Regions from separate parts of the Homo sapiens genome. Here regions 2, 3, 4, 5, 6 and 7 are each linked to region 1. Evidence: promoter capture Hi-C in 16 types of primary human blood cells and fetal thymus (Javierre and others, 2016). All regions are on one chromosome and are shown on one strand. The core of a region is centred on a gene start or on the middle of the fragment in contact, and the rest is flanking DNA. Distances in the headings are between cores, read along the strand shown.

Region 1 (3,786 bases), core at 1-2,500:
GCGCTTCCCCACTCGGTTCCCCCTGTCTGCCACAAACAAACCAGATGTAATAGCTGAAGAATGACGACACTAAAATCAACCTAGAGATTCACATCTAAAAGGGCCGCAACACGAAATAAACTTCTCTCTCTTCAGAGGCAGCGGGGAAGAAAAAGAAAAAAAAGCCTAGGTGGGTTCGGTTTGATCCATTTCCGCGACTCCGTGCGCTCAGGGGCTCTGGGCTGGTGCGGGCGGCTTAACCCTGTGAGAGCCGAGAACGACCCCACCGGGATACGCGGGCCCCGGGCTGGCGGGGGGTGCCTCACGCCGCGCCCGTTCCCCCGCCAGCAGGTGCCCGAAGCCACCCCAACAGGCCGGGTGCGAATGCCGGAACATGGCCACTTTCCTGAGCGGGATGATGCCGCCGCCGCCGCCGCACGCCGCCCAGCACTTTGTTAACTTGGCGCGCCCGGGCGAGGTGGCTCCCAGGAGGTGATCATTGCCGTCCGAGAGCTACAGAGCCCCTGGCCTCGCCCAGCACGGGTGTGGGGCCGCGGCGGGAGGAAGAGGTTGGGTAGCAGCCGCTAACCAGGGGCCCGCACGCCTGGCCCCTCGGAGCCCCGCGCCCCCTTCCCAGGTGCTTACCTGAGGGAAGGAGCCCTCGCGGCGCGGGTTCCTGGGGTAGTCTAAGTGACCCCGGTCCAGCATCAGGTAGAGCGAGAAAATCACCACACAGAAGATCGCACTGCCGAACACGGTGAACTGGCGGCTTAACTTCATTTTCCTCGATAGACTCGGGGCCAGGACACTCTCCTCAGCCAAAGGAGACAGCGCACTGTGGACTCTAGGAAGCAGCCGCCGGAGGCTCCCTTCTCCCGGGCTGCGCGACCTCCGCGCTCTCGGATGCGGGTGCGAGTCCCCGCCTTGCTCCGCACCTAGTCTCCGGCGCCACCACACGCCCTTGGCCTTCGCCCTGGCCTGCCGCCCTCCCCGGGGTCGGGCGCCCCTCTCGAGGCGAGACTCGCCGGCAACTGGGAAGGGGGGCCCCCACAAACTTGATCGCAAGCTCAGCGCCGACCTCCGGCAGGGCGCGCGGGGCAGGCGGAGGAGAGGTCGCTGCCCGCACTTCCTGCCACCGCCGCCCCAACTGAGTCGGCAGGAAAAGTTTTCTCGACGAGGGCAGGCGTGTCCTCCTCACCCAGGGGAGGCGCGGGTTCGGCAGCTCCCGGGCCGGGGCCGCGCAGCTAGGTCAGAGAAGCGGAGGGGAAAGGAACAAGATCGCGAGGAGCCAAGCCCTACAACTTCTGGGCGGGACGGTCGGGCCCGCCCCCGCGGCACCGGCACCGCCCCCGCCTACCCCGACTGAGCCCCTTCGTGCTGCTGCCGCCGCCGCCGCCGACGCTGCGGCTGGGCCGATGTGCACCCCGGACTCCGGGGCTCACGGATTGATGAGTTTCCTCAGAGCTAGCGTCCGCTCGCCAGACTCTCCCGCCCCCCGCCGCCCCTACCTTCCCCCTCCCGGACCCAGGCTCCGCGGGGAGGCGCAGGGGGCGGGCGGCGGCAACGCGGAAAGAAGGAAAAGGAGAGCAGGGAGGAAAGGACCGTCCCCGGAGAGAAGCCCGCTCCAGCTGCAGCCGCTAGCCCCCTCCCTCTTTCCCGCCCCACAAACGCGGAGATGGCGGCGGAAGCGGCGAAAGGAAGCGCCGGTTCTCCAGCGCCACTTGGCGCTCCAGCACCGCCCGCCACGAGCAGGAGGAGACAGCGGCGGCGCAGCAGCCGCTGGGTCAATAGGCGCCCGCAGCGCCTGAGCCGAGCGGGCGGCTGGCCCCGCCCCCTCCCGACGCTCCGAGATGAGGGGGCGGGCCCCACGGCGCCCAATCACAGCGCGTCGCCCGGCGGACCCGCCCCGCGCCTGCCTCCCAGTGTCCCGGCGATAGGAAGACCTCACAGGGCTCTTGTGACCTGGCAGGCAGCTTTCTGGGAGTTGAGGCCTTCGGGGGCGTTCAGGCGCCAGCACCCCCACGTCCAACAGGGGTTGAGCTTACACCCCACTTCCCTTTGTTGCTCAGGTTTCCTATCCTAGGACACTCGGGCCTGGCGTGCCTGGAAGAGTACTTGGTGACGGGCTGGAGGAAATGCAAGAGAAGAGGGCTTGCACATTCTCTTCGGGCTCACTATTTCCTCCTTTGGTGACAGCCTGTTAAAACCTGGGGGAAAGGAGACTGACAAAGGGCCGTCCAGGCACATGTAGAAACATCTGACTACGAAATCCATGAGTGTAATCTGAGAAGTGATGCTTCTGCCAGTTATTGATTTATTGCCTCTCAGCTCCAAATTCGCCCTTTTTGACTGCACTGTAAAAACGGATCTGAGCCTTTTAAACAGTTTTTCGTTTGCCTTCTGGGACTGAAGCTTTATCAGCAGAGGGCGCTGAAGAGACATTACAGAAAAAAAGGATTTTGCTTCCTGATTTCTGTGTATTGATAAGCTTTTGCAGCATACCTGGCTTTCTCCACTGCCAAGGTCCTATAGTGCTCAGTAACTAGCAATTTCCTCTCACATGCCCAACTCTAGGAGCTTTGTAGAGGAGGTGAGACACTACCCCATGAATAACTTCCCTGGCACCCTAGAGGCATTTGCAGCAAGTTGCAGAGGGCACATCTTCCACAAGCTTTGCAGACGTAGCCCAATGGTGACTTCTCTGCCATTCAGTGAGCCAGGTCATGCCCTCTCCAAAAACGTCTAGATCTTAGCCCTGGGAGGAATTGGGGAGGTTCTTCATTGGGCACTCTGTCTCTCAACCCAAGAGTTAGTTATAAGGTTAGCTCCTTATAGCTGCTGTTGCTATATTCTTTAAAGTTCTCTTCTTGCTAGTGAATCCTTCATTACTCTAATCCTCTATTATAGTTAACAATTCTTTTTATTAAGCCTTCCCTGTCCCGGGAGTAGTCCCAAGAAATAGACCTGCAAAGATGGGATTAAAGGTCAGTTTGATTGAGGTTTTGAGCTTTAGCTCCTTGCCAAAGGGAAATGTAATTCATGACATGCTGGGCATCTCAATTAAGCAATTACCTGTGGTTGATCCTGATGAAGTGCCAACTGAAGCCTGTGCCTTGGGGCCCCAAGTGGCTGCTACACTTGACTGCTATGGTTATAAAGATGACTAGAAAGACTGGTGTGGGATGGATTCTTTTGCGTGCTTTTGAGTGGTTATAAAGAGAAATGACAAGCACAGGTTTTTTAACTCTCAGAGTTATGGTATGAGAACCAGAGATATTCTGCAGAATTCCAAAAGCTCTGGTTTATTGTAGCAACAAGAATTATGCTGAGAATCAAACAAAATTTTAATTTTCATGTTACTGAATTATAACTGCTATTAAATTCACACATATTCTGAGTTTTTCGTGTAAAATGGTGTTATTTTTTAATAATAGAATCTCAATACTTGAAATGGGTTGGACCCAGATGAAACCGACAATCTTAAACACGCCAACTCTTTCTCTTATCAGTGGAAGTAGGTTGCCCTCCAGTGTCTAAAGAGACTAGCCTTGCTTGAAAACCTTGACTATAGAGGATGCCACTATCTAGATGGGCTCCCTGATTTCAATGGGGATGACACGATCTCAGAATAGCAGAAACCAGGCAGCACATAACCAACAAAGACAAGGTGGGCGCACATGTACCTTAAAGGGCAGCAGGAAATCAGACTGCCTTGGCTTACGGAGCTGCTCTGAGAACAAAATAGATAGGCAGTTGAAATAGATTATTGCTTGATATTTATAACAGGTAAAAAGATCTAAGTCAGGT
Region 2 (3,786 bases), core at 900-3,399, 1.8 Mb before region 1:
AATTACCCAAACTTCATTCTAACCAAGAAAAATGGCAACAGATGAAGAACAAAAGCAAAAGAAACAAAAACCTCCCAGAAACTGGCTGGAAGATAAGAAATCCCATGGGGGCATAAGTGTGATGTAATGACTCCCGCCGTCCAAAAAAAAAAAGCCAAGTTAATTTTGTTTTAAACATGTTTTACACCATCCTGCAAGAGAATATATAGACTGTTGAGCAAAGTATCCAGAACTGAATCCTAATAATGACAGATACAACTTTTTTACTTTTTTGAAATAGATACGTGGATTTATTCCTCTCCACCATTAAACCTGTGTAAACCCTCACAGTAGGAATTAGGCCTTTCATTTATGGTCCCAGTGGTCTTCACAGGTGCCTTGACAAAGAGCTACCAAGCACCATCTGAATTTTATGGAGACTAAGAGCCCAGTTTCAGAGTCCAGCAGACCTCAGCCAAATTCCAGTTTCTCCACTCAGTAATTAAGCAACCTGCCTTAAGATTTATGTCTGGGGCTCCTCGCCTGTAAAACACACCTACCTTAGGGGGCTGTTAAGAGGATTCAATGTAATTGAATTAAGTAGGTACAACTTAATTACAAAGCACTTTTCCCCAACCATTTCAAATTATTTATCTACGTATTCATCCATCCATCCAAAGCACCTCAATAATTGGCCAATAATTCCTAAGTGAAAGGAGCTTTACAACACACGAAGAACTCTTCTATTATGTCACACGAAATTATAAATATAAATATAAAACAAATTATTTTACATATAAACGATGGAGGTAAAAAATAAATCGGCCAATAATAACTAGCAAGTAGTATTTGGTAATTCTTTTGGTGAGGCCGACTTAAAAATTTACGAAATATTATTTATTTTCATTGCAAGTCTATCAGAAATCACTAATGGTGTAGCACTGCATTCTTCCCTGCTTTTGGTTCTCAAACTACGTATCTTAGTAAACGCAATTTGCAGACAAACCAAGCCTCGCTAATCAGTGCATCATGGCTACTCTGGTAAAGGAAGAAATTCACTGTTTGCCAAGCATCCCATCAGATGGGTGACTTCACAGCCACTGGAAGAAATCTTTCTCATGTTCGAGTAGATGGAAACTCCAAAACTGTGCAGTTGCTAAATCCACTTGTCACACCTCCTCCTTTTCTCTGCTTCTAAGGTTGCCCTCTAAACTCTTTATCTGAGGATGGAAACACACACACGCACCCACACACACCCACACCCACACACACACAAACGTATTTGGCTAAAGGTCAATTCACATAGTGGCAGGGACTTTCGTTTATATGCATTTTCCTTCCCAGCTCTCTCAGTTCTGAGTCAGGCTAAGCAGGAGGCAGAGAGCTCGTCCTCCTCTGCATGGGCGCTTTTTCTTATTTGACTTTTAGTCCTGGGAGGAGTAGCGTAGTTGCGAGATACTAGGATATCCACAAGCGGGATGAATTTGGACCTTATCCCTCACTGTGATCCTTCACTTCGCCTTCTGTTTCAATTTCTCCCAGTCGGTTTACTGCTTGACAAAATTCTTTCACAATTAAGTGATCACAGGACAACCCAACCCAACCAATCCAAACCTGCAGGCAACCCCAGACATCCAGGGAACCCTGGCGCGGCTCGGGCCAGCCCACACCCACGCGGAATCATTCCATTTATCGGCCACCAATCAGCCCTCCACACGCTCCCGCGCCAGCCAATCCGAACAAGCGCACGTTGTTCCGGCCACCTCCTCTCAGCCCCCCCTCCCCGGAGCCCCCGGGATCGGGCCAGGGGGCGGGGCTGGGGGCTCGGCCCGCCTTGCCCTGAGGCGCTGGGTGCCTTCCAGTTGGCTGCGACCAGCGGTGACTTACAAGTTGGCTGCTGTCGCCTGCGCATCGGCGGGCCGGGAGGCTGAGCAGTACTGTTGAGAGCGGTGTGAGGTGCTTGGTAGCGCGCCGTAGCTGCTTCCACGTCCTTGCTTCACCTCAGGTAAAGGTAAGGAGAGCCACGGAGCCGCGGCAGGATTGGGGTGGCCCGTGTGGAGGGCGACTGTGGCGCCCGGGGCGTCCTGCCAGGTGCGTCTTCTGGACCTGCTCCAGACCATGGATCTGGGGAGCTCGCGGTGGACGTTGGGGATGGCGGGCCCCGGCGTCCGGGCGGGAGAGGACCTCACAGATGAAAGAGAAACCTGAGCCCCTGGGAGGGGAAGCGGCGAGCTGGAAGGATCCCAGGGCTTGCAACTCGCCCCTGCGCGCCGCTCACCTATTTAAGTACTTGGAATCCATTAGACCTCAGTGTCCTCAGCTGTTAAATGGGAGAGGGGCGGTGGTAATCCCGCTTGATTTGGGACAGTCCTGTTCTTTGGAGGTCACCGCGCTTCCTGGTTCTTAGGAGGTGCACAGACAGCGCAGGGGCAGCCGCGTCCCACCAGGCTTCGCGGAGGTGATGCCAAAGACAAGAGACAAAGTTTTCCCAGGGCTTACTGCCTTCCAAGGTCCCTGCTAAATGTATTAACTCAAATAATTTCTCACCAAATCAGTGTCATTGTTTTCCCGAATTTACACTTGAGAAAGATTACCTTAGATTTTTAGGTTCAGCAGCCAGGACAAAACTTGACAAATATTTGGTGGGCCCAGGTTTTTTATATGAAGTCTTTTCCAGCCTGTGATCAGCTTCCACAGTTTTACAAGAGAGAGCTTTAGGCTCTGAAGTCAGACGCCCTGGGTTGGAATTCTGGCTCCATCACTTATGAACTGTGTGATCTTGGACAAGTGACTCAACCTTCCTGTTGCTATTTTCCCTTTCTGTAAAACAGGGAAAATGTATAGACATTAAGCTACTATTCTCACTTATGGAAGACCTCAAGATATCTAAAGTATGCCCATTTACACCAATCCTAGAGCTTCTGAATAACTAAAATTCCTTTACCATAATGAAACACATTTTCTCAAGGAGGACTATTACTGTTGTGAGGATTAAATAAAATAAATGCAATGTAAAGCAGCCAGAAGGACTGACCATGTAGTAAGTGATCAATAAATGTTATTGTTATTTTTTAAAATCAAGTACAGAGCATTAGGTTTTTTTTTTAATCAAGTATTAGAGCATTAGGGGTTTGAACAGTAAGTTGGCTCACTATTCATATTGTAGAAATATACTTCCATGTTGCATTTCTTTAAATAGTGAGCTCCTGCCAGAGCCAGTCTCAAAAAATGAGAAGCTGCTGTACTTGTCTGAGTTAGAAAACTTAACAGTTCAACATTGATTGGAAATCAAGCATATGCTGAAATTTTTATGTTAGTTAGAAAATATAATTTAATTTACAAAGCTTTGGTTTGTATGACATTGGGGAAAGTCCATGGCATGTTAAACTGAAGCTGTTGACGGAAGTGAAAACCATATTAATCAAGTAATGCAAGGTTAGACCGTTCTGATACCTGCATTTCTTTAACAAGTGAATTCTGACCTAGTCGTACTACAAAAGTCCAAACAGATTTTTATGGCATTCACTTTACATTACAGGTTAAATGTTTTATTATGTTCCATATTTAAAATAGAACCTATGCCATCTCACTGTGACAGATATTTGAGAATAATTGGAGTTGGATTGGTCAAGACTATGGTGCTGATAGATGGCCTCAAGAAAAGTAACTTGAGACAGCTGCCCTCCCTATGATGGCAGCCACTATCACCACTAGTGATAGCTTCAAAAGCATGGGCATAGAAAACATGAACAAAAAGATTAAAGGAAAAACATGGAGGTGGACATTACTCAGCATTTGGCCATGGGA
Region 3 (3,786 bases), core at 636-3,135, 1.2 Mb after region 1:
TTAGGGATTTTCAAAAGGGGAGGGAGTGTATGAATAGGGTCTGGGTCACAGAAATCACATGCTTCACAAGGTAATAGAATATCACAAGGCAAATGGAGGCAGGGCAAGATCACAAGACCACAGGACTGGAGCGAAATTAAAATTGCTAATGAAGTTTCGGGCACCATTGTTATTGATAACGTCTTATAAGGAGACAGGGTTTCAGAGCAACTGATCTGACCAAAATTTATTAGGCGGGAATTTCCTCTTCCTAATAAGCCTGGGAGTGCTATGGGAGACTGGGGTTTATTTCATCCCTACAGTTTCGACCACAGAAGACGACCACACTCAAGGGGGCCACTTTAGAGACCCACCCTCGGGGTGCATTCTCTTTCTCAGGGATGTTCCTTGCTGAGAAAAAGAATTCAGCGATATTTCTCCCATTTGCTTTTGAAAGAAGAGAAATATGGCTCTGTTCCACCTGGCTCACAGGTGGTCAGAGTTTAAGGTTATCTCTCTTATTCCGTGAATAATTCCTGTTATCCTGTTCTTCTTTCAAGGTGCCCAGATTTCATATTGTTCAAACACACGTGCTCTACAATTTGTGCAGGTAACGCAATTATCACAGGGTCCTGAGGCAAACATACATCCTCCTCAGCTGACAGGATTAAGAGATTAAAGTAAAGACAGGCCTAGGAAATCACAAGGGTATTGATTGGGGAAGTGATAAGTGTCCATGAAATCTTCACAATTTGTGTTTAGAGATTACAGTAAAGACAGGCATAAGAAATTATAAAAGTATTAATTTGGGGAACTAATAAATGTCCATGAAATCTTCACAATCCATGTTCTTCTGCCATGGCTTCAGCCGGTCCCTCCGTTCGGGGTCCCTGACTTCCCGCAACAGAGGAGTTATTGTTTAATGAGTATAGAGATTCAGTTTGGGGTGATGAAATGGTTGCATAATATTGTGAGTGTAATTAATGGCACTGAATTGTACACTTAAGAATAGTTAAAATTCCATTTTTTTCACATAACCACATTTTGGTCAAATTTTTTAATGCCAAATTTTATGTTATATACATTTTACCATAATTTTTAAAAATTAATAATATAATACGCCAAAGCCATTAAATTGTACATTTAAAATTGGTGAATATTATATGTGGAGTATATCTCAGTAAAACTATTACTAAAAAACACACACACAAACAACTATGGCTGCTGAAACCAAAAATGTCTCTTAAATGTTACTTACACACATGCACACAAATAAATAGATTTGTATATTTCATCTCTAATCTCAAGCAAGCTTTCCTAAACCCCTCTAGTCCCATTAGAGTTAATCCTATCCATGCATTTCCTTCATAGCATTACCACAGTTGGAATTACCATGGTTGAAACTAGATGTCTAGCTCCATGAGAACAAGGGCTGTTAATTCATTACTTTTAATTCACTACTGCTTCCAAGTGGGTAGCATAGTGTCTGGAATAAAATTGTTGTTGAATGGATGGATGGATGGATGGATGGATGGATGGATGGATGGATGACTTATTGGGCTTAAAGTCTGCATGAATAGCTGTGAGTCTTGTTGGTTGATAATTTAACACTTGCAGAATTTATGGGTTAAACAGGACAAAGAGAGTTCAAATAAGGAAGTGAATATCACCTGATTCTTAAAATTGCCTTAAGAACTTACCCCAAGAGACATACTTATAAGCATACTGAATACAGTGTGAAACATTATTAAAGAAAGAGTCACCCAAATCTGATTTGAAAAGTAAGGCAAGAGGTTTCTGATGGTGCTATTTTGTAGTTGGATAAAAGATTCACTTATACATTATAAGAAAAATGAGTTTGGGAGATAAAATATTAAGAGGAACTTTAAACTCTAGAAACAAACAAAGATAAGCTATTGATATGAGAGGGAAACTACAGAAAGAGGTCAAGAGATCTGATTTATTTAAAGAAACAACATTTCAAGTAGAAAAACTCTAAAAAAAAAATCTAACTTGAGAGGAAAACAGACTTTAGATTGAAGAGGTCTGAAGAATAGTAAGGCAAGAGCAGAGGGCAAACTCAAACTGAAAATTGGAAAAATATTCCTGGAGCTAATTACAGTCATAAAGTGGAACCATTTCCCTAAAGAGGTAATTATAGTAAACTCAGTAGCGACGTTCAAATGGAAATTAAATGTTTATGGAAGACGTGGTGTTCATTTTTCTGATAGAGGAAGTTCTTCTGGCTGACTCATGAGTTCATTACCCTCTTCATTTTCTTCTATTTTTTTGCCTCTTATGAAGTTTTCCATTGTATCTGAGACTGGGTCTGACAAGTGTTTTACAATTGTGCGCTTGGTCAGTATTTTACATTTTATAGGAGACATTAGTTTAAATACCATATGTAAAACTTCACCAAAAAAACTAGGTCAGTGAAGGTATGCAATATCATTTCTCGGCTTCAATTCAGTGCAAGAAACTACCTCAGGCCAAAGCTTCCCAATCTAAAGGACATTGAAGACTAGTGAAATACTCAAAATCTCTTATTCAGATAGTTCTACATTCTATATTCCGTAGAAAAGTACTACATTTTTATACTTCAAGATACAAATTGTGATTTCTGGTTCAAATAGCAAATTTAGAACTAATGCTTATCTCTTCTCTCTCCCTAGACCTCAGTGAAATGATAGTAAAGAATTAAACCCATATCATATCAGTGGAGGAGAGATTCTGAGACATTTCTAGAAAATGAAAAAGAAAGAAAGTCTGTTGACAGATTGAATAAAGCAAAGACAAGACAACTCTGAGCTGTGCATGTGAAATCAGAATGCTGATATTCTGCAGAAGCTTGGGGAAGCAGGTACTATGAGAAAGTCAGATGGAAAGGGGAACCAAAAAGAGTGAGGGGGTGATGGACCTTGTGCCTCTGAATAGCTCCTCTCCCAGGTTCTTCTCTCTAGGATACCAAGAATTTCATTCCCAGGCAAAAAATCAGGGGGCTCTTCTCTTAGGAATTTAGTCAACTGTCAGAGGAGAATTAGAGTTATTAGAGTACATGTGTGCAGCCACTACCATTCTGACATTTGGAGGCCACTCCTGCGTTATGGCCAGCTCCCTGTCTGCCCCCACTCCCCATGGATGTAGAGCTCCTGGTCAGCCATCCTGATGATGCTAAAGAACCAATGAGAAAAACAGCAAAGGCACTCCAGGCCAGCTCTTTGGAAATCAACACTGTCAGACAAAATCACAGACAGATTAGGAAACCATCACCATTGAGGGGAAAAAAAGGTATTATACAGATGAAACAAAAATCCTATGAAAACGGAAGAATCAGAAGTGGTCCTTGAGAAAAACAGAACGGATCCAAGACAACAAATAGCAAAAGTAAGGGGAATAGATGTTCTGACATTATTAAAAAAAAAAAAAAAAAAGAACAAAAGTAGGCCAGGCGCAGTGGCTCACACCTGTAATCCCAGCACTTTGGGAGGCTGAGGCGGGCAGATCATGAGGTCATGAGTTTGAGACCACCCTGGCCAACATGGTGAAACCCCGTCTCTACTAAAAATAAAAAAATTAGCTGGGCATGGTGGTGGGCGCCTGTAATCCCAGGTACTTGAGAGGCTGAGGTAGGAGATTGTTTGAACCTGAGAGGCAGAGGTTGCAGTGAGCCGAGATCACGTCATTGCACTCCAGCCTGGGCGACAGGGCGAGACTCTGTCTCAAAAAAACAAAAACAAACAATAACAACAACAACAAAACGAAAGTAAATTATTCTTCTATCAAGAAGAATAAATTAGAACTTCAGGG
Region 4 (3,786 bases), core at 819-3,318, 1.1 Mb after region 1:
CTCACTGCAACCTCTGCCTCCCAGATTCAAGCAATTCTCTTGCCTCAGCCTCCTGAGTAGCTGGGATTACAGGCATGTGCCATCACACCCGGCTAATTTTTGTGTTTTTAGTAGAGACGGGGTTTCTCCATGTTGGTCAGTCTGGTCTGGAACCCTTGACCTCAGGTGATCCGCCCACCTTGGCCTCCCAAAGTGCTGGGATTACAGGCATGAGCCACTGCGCCCAGCCAAGATTTTAATCCTGTTGCTGTCACTTCTTAGCTGTTTGACCTTGAGCAAGTTACTTAACCTCTTGACATGAAAGATTCTCCATTTATAAACCAGTCAAGGTGAGTGTGAAGACTAAATGAAATAATATATGCAAACATGTGTCCGGCATGGGGTCCACATTCTCCTTCTTTCTGGCACCTCCACTTTAGCACTCTCTGACCAAAGTTAGCCTTGCAATGACTCTGTGGAACATGACATACAGCAAAGTTGATCATCATGGGAGGCTCTGGCTCTGGTTTTGTCCTCAGCTCACCTGTGATATCTTTGTACCTCATCTAGCACACATCCAGACCCAGAATGGGCTTTGCAAACAACGGATGCCTATTACCTTGAAGCATCTAAATGATGTAAAACCAAGGAAAGATTTGTTTTTGTGGTTTTTGGATTTTGGTGTATGAGATATTATAGAAAACTAAATATGTAAGCTGTGACAACTTCAATGAGAGAATGCCAGCAAATTTTTAGATTAGGGTTTAGACACAGCCAGGACCATAAAATAGTTACTTTTCCCCAATCTTTCAATCACAAATAGAAGGTTTTTCAAAGGAAGGAAGGTAAAAAAGACCAATAATAATAATAATAATAATAATAATAATAACTCTTGGATTATTTACACTAGTAGAAGTGAAAAAAGTACTTTCAAATTAAAAAAATTTCACTGACCTAATATTGAGATTGTTGAAGAGAAAAGAACTTATTTGTTGATTTGTATTCTCTTTTCAGTAATGGGGACTGCTAAAAGAAATCCATACAGGAGACAAGGAAATTATATTAATGAAATCTTTGTATAATTTAAGCTAAGCAATCATCTCCAGTACACCAAACCACAGGCTTCCTGTACTCATCAGTCCAGACGAATGACATATTCACAAATGTATCATTAGAGTTAGCAAGAGGTTTCTTGTTTTGTTCTTTATTTTTAGACATTGCTAGGGAATATTTATTTCTGTGCAATTCCTAAATTCTGTTAAGTCTTCAACTGATTTAAATGAACAAAAGACATCACTAAGTCATAGCCTAGAATTGGAAGGAAGCTTAAAAAAGCCAGAGGCCCAACTACTCCTCAGCAATGTTCATAACCACTGGTCATCCAGGCCTCCAATTCAACTCTCTAGAGATTTAGAAGTGACTGTTGAACTAGGCAGCCCATGCTGATTCCAGTCTACTCAGATGTCTATAAATTCCATCCTTTAAAGCCACACAGAAACAGGCTAACGCCTTTTTCCAGGCAGGCATTTCCTGTAACGCAACTCAACTCCTCCTAGTAGAGAGTGATGGCTATAGGAGGGAGGGGATGATTAGGAAGCGGTTGCTGTGGGTAGGTCACCAGGCACTGCAGGGCTCTTGCTTCTTGTGAGAGGAGTATTGGTGAGTGAGAGTGGACAATGCTCTCTGTTGACACTGACCATGTTTCAAGATGTAGTTTGAGCCTTACAGACAGACTGAAGGATGTATGCAATTTCAGTCCCAATTATAGCTGTCAACAAGTGAGTTTCACATATTTTCCCCTTGCAGTCCCAATTTCTCCACTACCACTCTGCATTTCTTAGGCTCCAGAAGTCATCCATGTGAATATTCTGGGATGTACTAATGGCAGGGAGATAATACCCCTGGATTAGGGTAGAGGACTGTCTTTGAGATTTTTACCTATGTCCAGCACCCTTCCTGGGCAGCTTCCGTGATGAATGAATTCTGTTTTCAAACATGGAGTGCACTTGGGCTTTCAAAAATATGAACGTCTTTTACTGTCACATGGAGTCAGTGGCAATGAGAATTAATCAGGATCTGATGGTCATTTCTGCCATGCAAACCTCCTTTATGTAAATAGAGAGAGCTTCCAAATTTCTTCAGGCTCAAAACAGGGTGCAAAAACTCCACAGTCCTCCCATATTACCAGCATCCTTAGTGTAAGGTTTCTGATACAGAAAATCTTCAAAGATTCCATTTTCAGGGGACGTTTCTTCATTTTGATCATGCTTTACTTTCCCTCAGTGTCATTTTTATCTGTCTTGGATTCATTTTACTTTCTTAAAAACACTTTCTTTTTTTGAAGATGAGGTCTCACTCTGTTGCCCAGGCTGGAGTCCAGTGGCACAATCATAGCTCACTGTAGCCTCAAACTCCTGAGTTCAAACAATCCTCCCCTCTCAGTCTCCCAAGTAGCTGGGACCACAGGTATGTGCCACCATGTCCAGTTCATTCCTTTTATTTTTTTGTAGAGACAGGGGTCTCACTATGTTGCCCAGACTGGTCTCAAAGTTCTGGCCTCAAACAATCCTCCCACCTTAACCTCCCAAAGTGCTGACATTACAAGTGTGAGCTGCTGCTCTTGGCCAATTTTTTTTTTTTTTAAATTTTAGGTTATGTGGGTTACTTTACAGCCCTGAGACAAAGTCAATTAGTAACAATTAAGCAGTATCTAGATTTAATGATTTTCAGAATTTTTATACTTACAACCCTTTAAAAGTTAAAAATATGTCATGCTTCCCAGAACATTATAGTAGTAGAATATTTAGTAGCCATTGATTGAGAAATTATCTAATGACTAAAGCAGAAGCTTTTGAACACATCCCAGTAGCAACTGAACAAGTCCACAAGTTTGAAAAATTGAATAGAAGTGAGTCACATTAATCCTTTTTAGGTAGTGCTTAGTATGCATACTCTTCAACTCAGTGTCTGCTCAGAAGTTTGCACCCACCCTTTCCCCATGTTCCCTCCTTCCCCCCTACAGACTTCCCCGAAGAATCGACATATTTCTTTAGCAGCTTCTTAATTCATAATACTTATTGGTTTTGCCCAGAATGCAAGCTAAAGCTTCTAGCTTGACCTAATTAGATTTTACCTTAAAACCACAGAAAGTTGGAGCTGGAAGGAATAATAGAGGTCATCTAGTTTTACCTCCTTAATTCCCAAATAAGAAAACTAAGACCCCAAGGCTTACAAGCAGCTGCCCTGGGGCACAGAGAATAGGACAGAACCAGGTTCTTCTGGTAGCATTCTGGTCCCAGTCTCTGCCTGGATCTGGTGCACAGAGCTACTAGGCCTGCATCTGGAGCACTGGTCACTCCAAACGGCTAGAAGTTTCTCCAGTATCAGGCTGTGTCCTGCTGCTAGCATATTATTTGTGTAACTCCTCTTGCCCAGAATCGATTTCTCCCCACAATTACTTGGTAGCAATTTAGTTCATCTTCCAGACTCAGCTAGAGTAAAACCTTCCCATGAAGCATCTTTAGACCCTCAAATAAGACACCCCACCTCTTTTGTGCTTCTACTGTAGAAATAATAAGAATAATGGCTAACATTTACTGAGCACTTACTACATGCCAGTAACATTACATGTTACATCTCACTTAATCCTCATAACATATTATGCCATAGGAAGTATTATTTGCCTTTAGCTTAAAAATAAGGAAATGGAAGCTTAGGGATATTGAGTAATTTGTATAAGTGTCAGAAGTGAGATGCTCCCTCTCACAGTGTGAGTCAAGTATCACACACTTAACCACTCTGTTATGT
Region 5 (3,786 bases), core at 562-3,061, 1.1 Mb before region 1:
TTAGTAGAGAACTACAATTAATTTTATATCATTTTAAAGTTATACTTAGGCCAAGAAGAACATTCCTATTAATTAAAACCCCTAATGATTAACTAATTTATTAAATATCCCTAATATCTATATATTCAACTCCCTACTAGTCCTGTCCTGTGGATGACACAAGGTAACTTGAAACTTACATATCCACAACTTAACCCAATCATACTCACTCATACCACACCAATTCTTTCCTTCTCTGCTGTATTTCCTATTTCCCTAGATAGCAGCTTCATCATCCTAGTGTCCAAACAATATATCTAGAAAACATTTTTATCTCACTCTTCCTATCTAATCAGTCCCCAGGTTCTACAAATTCTACTCCCTTAGTATCTTACAAATCCATGCTCTTCTCCATACTTAACACTATTACTTTATATCAATTTGACTACAAGTTTCACTGTCTCTGGTTTTGCCCCTTTGCATGATACCATCAGTAATACTCCTATTATTTATCTATATTATCTATATTATTAATAGATATACATGATAGAATTAAAAAGAAGCAATAGGGTATCAGCTGAAAAGTCTGTCTCCTTTTCATCCCAGTCCTCAGCAGCAGTTTTAAAATTTATCGGGATAATCCATGCATATACAAGTATATCTGTGTGTGTATGTTATAGAAATATTTTTGTTTTGCTTATTTTTAACAGGTAGTATTATCTTGAAACATAAAAAATATCCTGGAGATCATTCCACATTAGTATACACAGAGCTACCCTCTTATTTTTAAAGGTTACAAGGTGTTTCACCATAATATACCATAATTATTTCACTGGTACCCTAGTGATGGACATTTAATCATTTCCAGTCTATTATATGCAATGTCATAGGACATCCTTGTATATATATTTTTGCATATATATGTGCACATCTATGTGGGATAAGTTCCTGGAAGTGAAAGAACATGTACATTTTAAATTTTAATAGATATTGCCAAACAATCCAAAGGTCTTCAAGATATTTTGGTCATGGCTAAAACACCTTCAACAGTACTCTTGTAGCTTTTAAGATCTAGTAGTGTGCAGTTCTTAGAAGGTGCTTTAGAATCTGGATCCTGCTTACTTCTCTGGCTACTTTTTCATCTTTCTCTTACTCTTCAACCCCCACTTCAAGCTCCCATTGTACTCCATTAAATCCATTCCCAAACATTATGATCTCTCTTTGTCTTCTGCCTTCACACGTCTACTTTAAAAACCTTTTCTCTATCCTCATCATGAAGAGTCAGACTTCTCAACAAGAAGCACACAATTCGGGCCTTTCTTTTCCCAAAGTTTTTCCCAGCCATACACTGTGCCCAAGCCCAGTTTTGATAAGGTACTTCTCTTTTGTATTCTGACAGCATTCTGTACTTCTAATATTGCCTTTATCTTACTGCAGCACAATCTTCAAAGATTTTGTCTCCATGAATAAATATGAGCCTCTTGATAGCAGAGACATCATCTTAGCACAGCTCTTTGTGGTTTTGCTAAATTAAATTGTACTTTTGCTAAATTACATTTTGAAAGATTCAAAAACATATCGTTGTGCTACTTTAGTTTTACTACAACAGTTAAGATGTTTTATTGACCAAACTGAAAGTAATTATTCTTGCTTTAATGATTACTAAACCCAAATGACACTTATATAAACCTTTAATAGAATCCAGACAAAATTCTCACCTGAGTTTTGTTGAAACTGTACATAATATTGATGACTGTAAATGGAGTGAGATGGTAATGCTGAGCATGGTAATTAACCTGTAAAAAAGATATTTCATTATTTTTTTCTGTTAATGTTTTGTCAAGAAATAACAGAGCCATGAAAGAAATATGGTGGAATTGCAGTATAAACAAAAGTTAATTCCAAAGTCAACATAAATTACACATAAGCAAAATTACTCTTAAAAGTGCTTTAAATAACCTATTAAAAGTACAGTATGTATGGTTATATAAATACAATCTGAAGACCAATGCATAATACACACAGTACTGTAGACTATATAATAAAGAGGGTCTTATTTGATATTTGGTTTGCCTTAAACAACTGAATTACATCTCCCAACTCATGTTCATTTTAGGCAAGCATTTTTCAAACTGTACTTGGCAACTGACTGGTATATGAAATCAACTGGGGGAGTGTCAAAACAATATTTATTATGTGAAACAATAAAATATTAGAATGTATTACATTCTAATGGTATTATTTCATAAAACATTTAAAAATAATATATTTGTTACTTATATGTAATGTATCCATTGGATCTCCATGTTAATATTACTACAATGTAAAATATATATCTGAAATACACTGTTCTGTGGCACATACAGTCAATGCTACTTTAATGGTATTTCTGTATACATACTTTTCAGTGCTAAGCATGAACAGATTAATTTATAATGATTTATACTGTTTTGAACTCTAACAGCTAACAAATACAGGAAGCATTACTTTACAGAGAAAGTGGGTTATAACAGGACGGGCGCAGTGGCTCACACCTGTAATCCCACCACTTTGGGAGGCTGAGGCGGGCGGATCATGAGGTCAGGAGATCGAGACCATCCTGGCTAACACGATGAAACCCCGTCTCTACTAAAAATACAAAAAATTAGCTGGGCACGGTGGCGGGCTCCTGTAGTCCCAGCTACTCGGGAGGCTGAGGCAGGAGAATGGCGTGAACCCAGGAGGCGGAGTTTGCAGTGAGCCGAGATCATGCCACTGCACTCCAGTTTGGGCAACAGAGCGAGACTCCGTCTCAAACAAACAAAAAAAAAAAGTGGGTTATAACAGAGTTTGCAAGTGGGGTCCACTGACTCCTGAGGGCCCCATTACCCTTTCAGGGGCTTGACAAGTTCAAAATTATTTTCCTAGTGATTACTAAGATATAATTTCCTTTTTTCACTGTCTTGACATTTTCACTAATGGTACAAAAGCAATGGTAGGTAAAACTCCCAGCTCATTAGCACAAATTGAGGCAGCACCATCAAACTGTATTTTCGTACTTACAGTAATTTTTCACCTCATTTACCCATAGAGAGAAAAAAGCAACCTTCATATAGTAATATCCTTGACAATGAAGTAACAAAATGTTAATTTTATGAATCCTTGACCTTTGAGTACACATCCTCTTTCTAATTAATATCCTGTGTGTTACATAAGGAAGTAAGATTGCTGTCATGAGGAAAGCACTTGTATGATAGAACTGCAAGCTAAACTAGCCACTTTTTTCACGGAACATCATTTTTACTTAGAAAAACTCATTGACGGACTATACCTATTCACTTTCAGGACAGACATATTTTAAAAAATAAACAAAGTGAGATTGTTGATTAAAACAAAAATAAATAACAGTATTTACTGTCAATGATAAGTTTGAATTTTCAACTAAAACTCAGAATTTTGGAAAATCTATATGCATCGTCAAGAGCTGACAATACTTATAGACTTTTCTAGTGAGATCAGTAGTATTTTTAATGAAGATGATTTTTTGATATTTTATAATCAAATGTTTTAACAACAGGAAGATCTATGTAACTCAATTGGTCAATATTTTTCAAATAACTTATGCACAATTACATGGAATCAGGCATAAGTAAAAATATCTATTCAAGATGCAGTATAGTTAAATGGATTTTTTAATGTAACAAAGTATAAAAAGTTCACTAAAATGATTTCTGATTTCACATTGCAAATAACCTTTAAGAAACTGCGACACAGTGAGTTTTGGTGCAATTGCAAAGAATACCCACAATTATCTCAAAAGAATATAAT
Region 6 (3,786 bases), core at 379-2,878, 1.0 Mb before region 1:
ACATTTCGGTTAATGCTGAAATGAGTTAAGACTTTAGGGTACTGTTGGGAAGGCGTGATTGGTTTTTAAATGTGAGGACATGAGATTTGGAGGGGCCAGGGGCAGAATGATCTGGTTTGGCTGTGTCTCCACCCAAATCTTAACTTGAATTATATCTCCCAGAATTCCCGTGTATTGTAGGAGGGACCTGGGGGAGGTAATTGAATCATGGGGGCCAGTCTTTCCTGTGCTATTCTCGTGATGGTGAATAAGTCTCACAAGATCTAATGGGTTTATCAGGGGTTTCTGCTTTTACTTCCTCCTCATTTTTATCTTGCTTTCACCATGTAAGAAGTGCCTTTCACCTCCCGCCATGATTCTGAGGCCTCCCTAGCCATGTGGAACTGTAAGTCCAATTAAACCTCATTTTGTTCCCAGTTTTGGGTATGTACTTATCAGCAGCATGAAAACAAACTAATACAGTATCAAATAGAAATTATTTACAATTAAGTTATACACTCCATGGCAAAACTAAACTGATATCACATAATATCAAAAATAGTTAAGAAATTGTCATCTAGAAAGTTGTTAAATTACAAAATCAATATTAATTCTAATGCAACAGTTCAAACTGATAAATATTTTTTCATGGCTATAGTTTTTTCCTATGATTCACTTTTGGTGTCAGATTGTTTTCCCTGGAAAATCAATTCTAATCTAGGAAGGTAATTGCAGTATTATGGACTAATTTGAATCGTGTCAGTGAAGATGCTAATAGCCTTGATTCCAAGCAACTGGAGGACTGAAGCTTAAGGTTTGAGAAATATGATTGAAGAAAATATAATGCATATTTTAAATTGTGTAACTTACTAATAGTTTCATCTCTTTCCTGACTTTTTAATGAGTACTCACTAGGTAGATTTCTCTAGGTAAAATTTTGATAAGTGCTATATAAGAGCACTCAGAATGCTAAGGAAACATTGAAGGATGTCTTCTAAGTTATCCTGAGAGAACAGTCATTGCGTTGGAAGGCTTCTAAAATGAGGTGTCTTCCCAGGTGAATGTGTCACTTTGGTTGAAGATAACAGAAACTCAATTTGTTACTTTAAACAGAAGATTTGACAGGATAATCAGGGTTTATAGAATTGATGGAAGGCTGTAAGTCAAGGATTGAAATGGACAGGAAAAAAAAATGCTGTTCTAGAGGACCAAGAAGCAGGAGGTACCACAACTGTCTTTTGGCAGGAAAATCTGTAAGGGTGCTGCTATCATGGCCCAAGGCACAGTTATTGCTACTTTCATCTTGATATTATCTGCTAAAAATTCAAATTCTTAAACTAGAACACATACTTGGCCAAACTTCTGTCATATTCCAACACAGAGTTCTGAGAAAATATAATCTGCCGTTTTTGGCTTTTGTAGTGGATGATGAAACACCACTTCCCATTCATATTACATGAAGAATTCCCCAGGTAGCATGGAAGGGTGATTGGATTCTCCAGATCCAAAATGTTGACAAATGTCTAACATCCGAGTCTTGATCAAGAGTAAGCATTTACCTGGTGTGTGGTTATTAGGGAGCAGGGGGTGGTATGCGTTTGTGTGAGTTTGTGGCAGCAGTTGAGGAGTGAGTGGGCAAGTATATTTTCAGACAGAGGAAGAGCATGCATGAGGTTATTAAGAAACGAGAGCTCATGATATGTTTAGGAAACTTAAAATATTTTTTAATTGATTACATAGCAGTGGAAAAAGTTTTAAAAATAAAGAAGACTGGGCCAGGCACGGTGGCTCACGCCTTTAATCCCAGCACTTTGGGATGCCAAGGTGGGTGGATTACCTGAGGTCAGGAGTTCGAGATCAGCCTGGCCAACATGGTGAAACCCTGTCTCTACCAAAAATACAAAAATTACCCAGGCGTGGTGGCAGGCGCCTGTAATCCCAGGTACTCGGGAGGCTGAGGCAGGAGAATCGCTTGAACCCAGGAGGTGGAGGTTGCAATGAGCTGAGATCGCTCCATTGCACTCCAGCCTGGGGGACAAAAGCGAGACTTCATCTCAAAAAATAATAATAAAATAAAATAAAAAAGACTGGTAAAAAAAAAAAAAGCAGAAAAAAACTGGGCAAGTAGGCAATGATATAGTTTCTGAAAGCATAATTGTGCCATACTAAGGGGTTAGGATGGTTTTGACATGCTTATTTTCCTAATTGCTAATTAATGGCCATTTTAGGATTATATATATATAGGTATATATATAATAATTTGAAAAAATTAGATTTGTCTTGTCAAAACTTCAATGTAGATGACTAATTAAAGGGAGAAAGGGGAGGTATGACTTTATTAGATTTATTTTTCTTACATAAATTTTCTAAATATTCTTGTCATTTTTTAAAATCATTGTGGGTCTCCTATTAGCTTAATATTATTGTGACTCTAAGGTTATACCAATATTATCTTAAAATTATTTAAAATTATTTCCTGTTTTAAGCTTCATTCCTCTGAGATTTATTGTTGCTATGGTATGAGATAGTAGTTCAGATTTATTTTCTTTCAAATTGTGCTCAGCCTCTGTACAGTTTTTCCCCACTGAGTTAAAATGGCAAATTTATCATATATAAATTTTATGCTTTTTCTGTAATCTTTCATTCTACTGATATATATATAAATAAAATCAGTAGATACATATATAAAATCAGTAGATATATTTAGAATAAGTAGATATGTGTAATATATATATATATGTATTTGTGAATTCTTCCTTATATAAACTTGTTCTGTTGTCTTCACTGTAGAATCGATGGGGTGACTTTTTTTCTCTAAACATGCTATAGTTTCAACTGATTCTTATATTATGGAGAAGAATTTTTTATTCGGCCTTCCTTTTATTCCTTTTTAATTCAATCTTCATTTGATTATGAATAACCTGGTTAACAGTTTGTATTTTTTTATGCTTTTAACACTTTTCTAGATCTCTTGAAATTAAAACAAGCAAGCCCCCAGGCTATTATTAAATACCACAGTCTTTTCATTTTTATTTTATCTGGATTATGGTAAGCACTGTTGATATTCTAGGATTTGTTCTCTCACATATGTAGTTTATAGTCTTTGTCAATTTCACTTTTCATTATTACCTTTAACTTACTGATCTTCTAGGAGTGATACGTCAGAGAAGCCTGAGATCACATATTGTAATTTCTGTTTTAAACATAAAAATGCACTCAAAAAACAAAAAAACTTAATTCCGAATCGAAGTAGTTCAAGTTAAATTTTCTTTCAAAGTTCTAATTTTTAAAGGCAGGTCATTTCACAGGACAATCCCTGTATATTACGTTTTAGTATTTTTTTTTTCTTTAGATGGAATCTCGCTCTGTTTCCCAGGCTGGGGTGCAGTGGCATGATCTCGGCTCACTGCAACCTCCATCTCCTGGGTTCAAGCAATTCTCCTGCCTCAGCCTCCTGAGTAGCTGGGATTATAGGTGGGTGCCACCACGCCTGGCTAACTTTTGTATTTTTAGTAGAGACGGGTTTCACCATGTTAGCCAGGATGGTCTCGAACTCCTGACCTCGTGATCCGCCCACCTTGGCCTCCCAAAGTGCTGGGATAACAGGCATGAGCCACTGCGCCCGGCCTACGTATGAATTTAATCATAAATGCCCTTCCCCATTCTTCCATATAGTATTTTACACTGGTGAACCTTTGTAAAATATATACAGTTGCTCGTTAGTAGACATAGGAATTCTACAAGGATTTTTAAAGGACTTATATTAGATAATTCTATTGCATACTACCTTTAAAAAGAGGCGTTCTT
Region 7 (3,786 bases), core at 400-2,899, 1.0 Mb after region 1:
GCCACTGCACCCTGCCAGAATTCAGTTTCTTGAGGTTATAGGACTGAGGTTGCCATTTCCTTGACATGGTTACCTTAATCTTCAAGTTAACAGCAGCACTTTTAATCCTTTTCATCTTGGAATATCTGACTTTATCTTCTACTACTAGCTGGAAAAATATCTCTGCTTTTAAGAGCTCACGTGATTCCATTGGGCCTACTTGGATAAGCCAATATAACCTTCCATTTTAGGTCAGCTGATTAGTAACCTTAATTACACCTGTCAAGTCCATTCTGCCATGTAAAGTAACATATTCACAGGAGTGACTCCAGAGGGAGAAGGTCATGAGGCCCAACATTCTGCCTACCACAGATGGGTTTGGAATATATTTCATAGGTGGAAGTGGAAAGATTGGCTTCAAAAAGTATTTAACATCATATCTAATGAGACATTTATCCCTTATCTAGAAACTTCTTCTTTTTTCTTTTCTTTTCTTTTTTTTTTTTGAGACAGGATCTCAGTCTGTTGCCCAGGCTGGAGTAAAGTGGTATGATCATGATCACGGCTCACTGTAGCCTCAACCTGCTGGGCTCAAGCGATTCTCCCATCTCAGCCTCCCAAGTTGCTGGGACCACAGGTACCCATCACCATGCCTGGCTATTTAAAAATTTTTTTGTGTGGAAATAGGGCCTCCTTCTTTTGCCCAGGCTGGCGCTGAACTCCTAGGCTCAAGCAATCCTCCCACTTCAGCCTCTCAGAGTATTGGGGTTACAGGCATGAGCCACCACACCTGGCCTAGAAGCTTCTTTGAGGCCCCAATCATTTCCTTGAGTTCTCCCCTTCATCAGTCCCCAAATATCCTACTTGAGATCTTTGGGTGTGCAGAAAGAAGAGAAAGACAACTATCACTCAAGAAAAAATTTGAATTTGGGAATAAGAATTGTAGTTTGTGAGGCAAAAAACATGATGAAATGAAGCAGGAATTTGTGAGTGTGGAGGTCACTTTTCCTGTGGCTCTCCTTCTGCCTGGGTGTGCTGGCATGAAGGAAGCAGAAGAAATGAGTAAAGAGAAAAATAATCTGGGACTTGGGGTCATACATGATATGTGAGGAGGAGAAACCAGAAGCATTTCATATTAAAAAAGGTAAAACAGCAAAGAAGATCCAGAAAGCCCTAAGCAGGAAGGGAACAAATAAAGGCAGAGACAATGTTAAGGCCACACAATATCATTGACTAACTAACTGCTTTAGGAAAAAAAAATTATTAATATGTGTACATTTTAAAAAGAAACCATTTTCATAGAAGACATAATCTCACTACTTAGAATCAACCCTGTAATTTCCTAATGATAGTCAAGTATTTACCAAGTTCCTTGTCAAGTACGTTATATGCATATATACATACAAACATTGGAGGGAGGGGCTGTTATTATTTTTTATTTTATTTTATTTGTTTTTGAGACGGAGTTTTGCTCTTGTAGCCCAGGCTGGAATGCAGTGGCGTGATCTCGGCTCACTGCAACCTCCATCTCCCGGGTTCGAGTGATTCTCTTGCCTCAGCCTCCCAAGTAGTTTGGATTACAGGCACCTGCCACCACGCGTGGCTAATTTTTTTTTTTTTTTTTTTTTTTTTTTTGTATTTTTAGTAGAGACGGGGTTTCACCATGTTGGGCAGGCTGGTTTCAAACATCTGACCTCAGGTGATCTGCCCGCCTTGGCCTTCCAAAGTGCTGGGATTGCAAGCATGAGCCACCACGCCCGGCTGAGGATGTTATTTTTAGAAGGAAAAGGCCACATTGAAAACTGAGTGGACAGCTTGATAAATCTAAGATAGGAAAATTTTGCTGAACCAAAGGACCTTTTGGAGTGTTCTATTTTTTCTCACAAGCCCAGGACCTCTGCAAAAAACATCCAAAACTACTATAGAAAATGCACATTTTATTCTACTGTTTCTTCCAGCAGATGTGGATTTTTAGCGAGGAGCAATTTCACGTTCTTGGTCCAAATTTTAAAACTGCTAGGTCACTGTGTAAGAAACAGTTGACTAGGTTTTGCTTTCCATTGCCTTGGACCAGCTAAAACAATTGTGCCCTCTAGCCTATGAAGTCTGTACTGCAAAGGCCATTTCAACAGTGTTTGCTTCAGGTTTATCCTCAATTTTGGTTCTTGAAATCAAAAGTCATAAAAAAATATGGTAGAGATTCACAAAGACCTCTCCAGTTTTCTCTTTCAGTTGTAAATAACAGAATAACTAAAATGAAAACAGCTTAAACAGTGAAGACTTTTAAAACCCCACATAACAAGAATTGTGTAATAATGTAATGGTGTAAGTAAAGCAATTAATCTCACTTGGGTGCATAAACTGACTATTGTGAGGTTCATTTACTTCCTTAGCTCTACCAGAAAAACAAAGTAACTATACTACACTTTTGTCTTCATATTTTAAAAACCTTACCTATTATAGGAAAATATTCCCTAAAATATTGCTAAGTAGGAAGGTATTGATCATTTCCTAATAAAGGCACACGACTAAGCTTATACTGATAAAGTCCGGAAGTTGCCTGCTTGACCTTTATTAATCACCTGGCATTTAGGATACTGATTTTTTTAAAGCTACATTTTAGTCAGTTAAAGCCACCTCAGCATCTTTAAAGAATGCTTTGATTTGATCTATTTCTACTTTTTCTTTGAGGAAATCAAGCTGGGAGTTCTGAGAGCACATTCTGTTTGCTTATTTGTTCCTTTTATCCCTTTCTGTCCTCTCTGCATGCTAGGGCACACCTCACCTTGAAAAGAACTCATCAGCCGCCCTCAAGATGGGAATTGCAATGCCTTCATCTTGAGCCACTTTTAACAGAGTTTCATTTTTTTTCTGCTTTGATTTTGAATAGTGCCTATGTTTGAACACACTAAACACATTTTGGCCAAGTTTCCTTCATAGAGTTGGAATTCAGATTGGTTGTCAGGTTATTTAAAATAACTTTCTGTCTGGATTGGATCACTGTTAATTGCTCTGATCAACTGCAGTACATGGTTAAGGTAAAAAAAAAATATTGAGAAGAGACCCCCAGTCAATCTGATCTTACTTCATAGACACAGACAAATGATGAATTTATGTTAGTTAGGGAGGCCAAGGAAGGAAGAGGAGACATCATTAAAGAGTAAATGTTTCCAGCATTAGTTTCTGGGTCATTAAGCCCTAATGATTGATCTTATTTGGTTATTTTAAAGGCTACTGGAAACTAAAATGGAAACAGTTCAGAATACTTCCTTTGTATACAGAAGATTTTGTTCATGGCAACAGCTATGTGTGCCTAAACATTTTGTGTCACACAAACTCCTGCATTTGACATTTCTATCAGAGAGAACAAATAAAAATCATCCTAGAGCTTTCAAACACTCAAGCCATGTTGGGGCTTTGAAAGATCTTGTCATTTCAGAAGTGAAGAAATGGGGATGCTCTCAAGAGCAAGGGCAGCTTAATGGATTCCCCCAAAGCCCCAAAAGCACCTTCTCATGACTTAATTACTCTAAAAATTTCTATTTTTTACATTGCCTAAAATTTTCATCAATAAGAAATCATTTGATTTATTAATACCAAAACCTCATATGAAGATAGTAAACACCTTTGGGATGGTTAAGGTAATCTCACCATTCACAAATGTATGTATATTATCAGGTGAGATTGATTTAATAAATCTTTGGGACAATAAAGGGTATTTTTCTTAATTAAAAATTACAATGGAAAATTCAGTATCAGTCATGTTTAGGAGTTCTTCCTCTTCTCTAGTGTTATGTAAGGGTCCCA

Evidence for each region. Contacts are between HindIII fragments. The CHiCAGO score rates a contact against its expected background, and 5 or more counts as called.
Region 2: a contact is called between the fragment with the promoter of STARD4-AS1 here and the fragment with the promoter of MAN2A1 in region 1, in 1 of 17 cell types (activated CD4 T cells). The highest score is 6.0, in activated CD4 T cells.
Region 3: a fragment that was not itself captured here is called in contact with the fragment with the promoter of MAN2A1 in region 1 in 4 of 17 cell types (endothelial precursors, erythroblasts, M0 macrophages and 1 more); the score reaches 9.8 in endothelial precursors.
Region 4: a contact is called between a fragment that was not itself captured here and the fragment with the promoter of MAN2A1 in region 1, in 3 of 17 cell types (M2 macrophages, M1 macrophages and M0 macrophages). The highest score is 11.0, in M2 macrophages.
Region 5: a fragment that was not itself captured here is called in contact with the fragment with the promoter of MAN2A1 in region 1 in 2 of 17 cell types (naive CD8 T cells and naive CD4 T cells); the score reaches 6.2 in naive CD8 T cells.
Region 6: a contact is called between a fragment that was not itself captured here and the fragment with the promoter of MAN2A1 in region 1, in 1 of 17 cell types (total CD8 T cells). The highest score is 6.4, in total CD8 T cells.
Region 7: a contact is called between a fragment that was not itself captured here and the fragment with the promoter of MAN2A1 in region 1, in 10 of 17 cell types (M2 macrophages, total B cells, naive B cells and 7 more). The highest score is 15.8, in M2 macrophages.

The regions. Positions count from the first base shown.
Region 1 is chr5:109,687,391-109,691,176 of GRCh38, reverse strand. MAN2A1 (mannosidase alpha class 2A member 1) reads right to left here and starts at 1,250. Exons shown (of 22, transcript NM_002372.4): 1 at 625-1,250. The coding sequence starts at 759. MAN2A1-DT (MAN2A1 divergent transcript) reads left to right here and starts at 78. Exons shown (of 1, transcript NR_186543.1): 1 at 78-3,376. RefSeq lists silencers at 387-486, 897-1,106, 1,137-1,656, 1,667-1,956 and enhancers at 2,067-2,166, 1,926-2,594. The HindIII fragment of the contact is 3,132 bases long and covers 1-2,393 here.
Region 2 is chr5:111,510,589-111,514,374 of GRCh38, reverse strand. It overlaps STARD4-AS1 (STARD4 antisense RNA 1), which reads right to left and starts at 2,149. Exons shown (of 7, transcript NR_040093.1): 1 at 1,867-2,149. It overlaps STARD4 (StAR related lipid transfer domain containing 4), which reads left to right and starts at 1,840. Exons shown (of 6, transcript NM_139164.3): 1 at 1,840-1,990. RefSeq lists enhancers at 1,376-1,515, 1,996-2,205 and a silencer at 1,596-1,965. The HindIII fragment of the contact is 3,364 bases long and covers 1-3,325 here.
Region 3 is chr5:108,522,612-108,526,397 of GRCh38, reverse strand. No RefSeq gene overlaps it. Among named protein-coding and RNA genes, the nearest start is that of FBXL17, 140 kb to the right of the region's middle. The HindIII fragment of the contact is 1,183 bases long and covers 1,294-2,476 here.
Region 4 is chr5:108,637,291-108,641,076 of GRCh38, reverse strand. No RefSeq gene overlaps it. Among named protein-coding and RNA genes, the nearest start is that of LINC01023, 89 kb to the left of the region's middle. The HindIII fragment of the contact is 1,523 bases long and covers 1,307-2,829 here.
Region 5 is chr5:110,744,258-110,748,043 of GRCh38, reverse strand. SLC25A46 (solute carrier family 25 member 46) reads right to left here. Exons shown (of 8, transcript NM_138773.4): 4 at 1,698-1,775. Among named protein-coding and RNA genes, the nearest start is that of SLC25A46, 7.1 kb to the right of the region's middle. The HindIII fragment of the contact is 6,336 bases long and covers 1-3,786 here.
Region 6 is chr5:110,727,151-110,730,936 of GRCh38, reverse strand. It overlaps a transcript of TMEM232 not described here. Among named protein-coding and RNA genes, the nearest start is that of TMEM232, 2.4 kb to the right of the region's middle. The HindIII fragment of the contact is 1,678 bases long and covers 790-2,467 here.
Region 7 is chr5:108,679,772-108,683,557 of GRCh38, reverse strand. No RefSeq gene overlaps it. Among named protein-coding and RNA genes, the nearest start is that of LINC01023, 47 kb to the left of the region's middle. RefSeq lists an enhancer at 1,663-2,163. The HindIII fragment of the contact is 1,731 bases long and covers 784-2,514 here.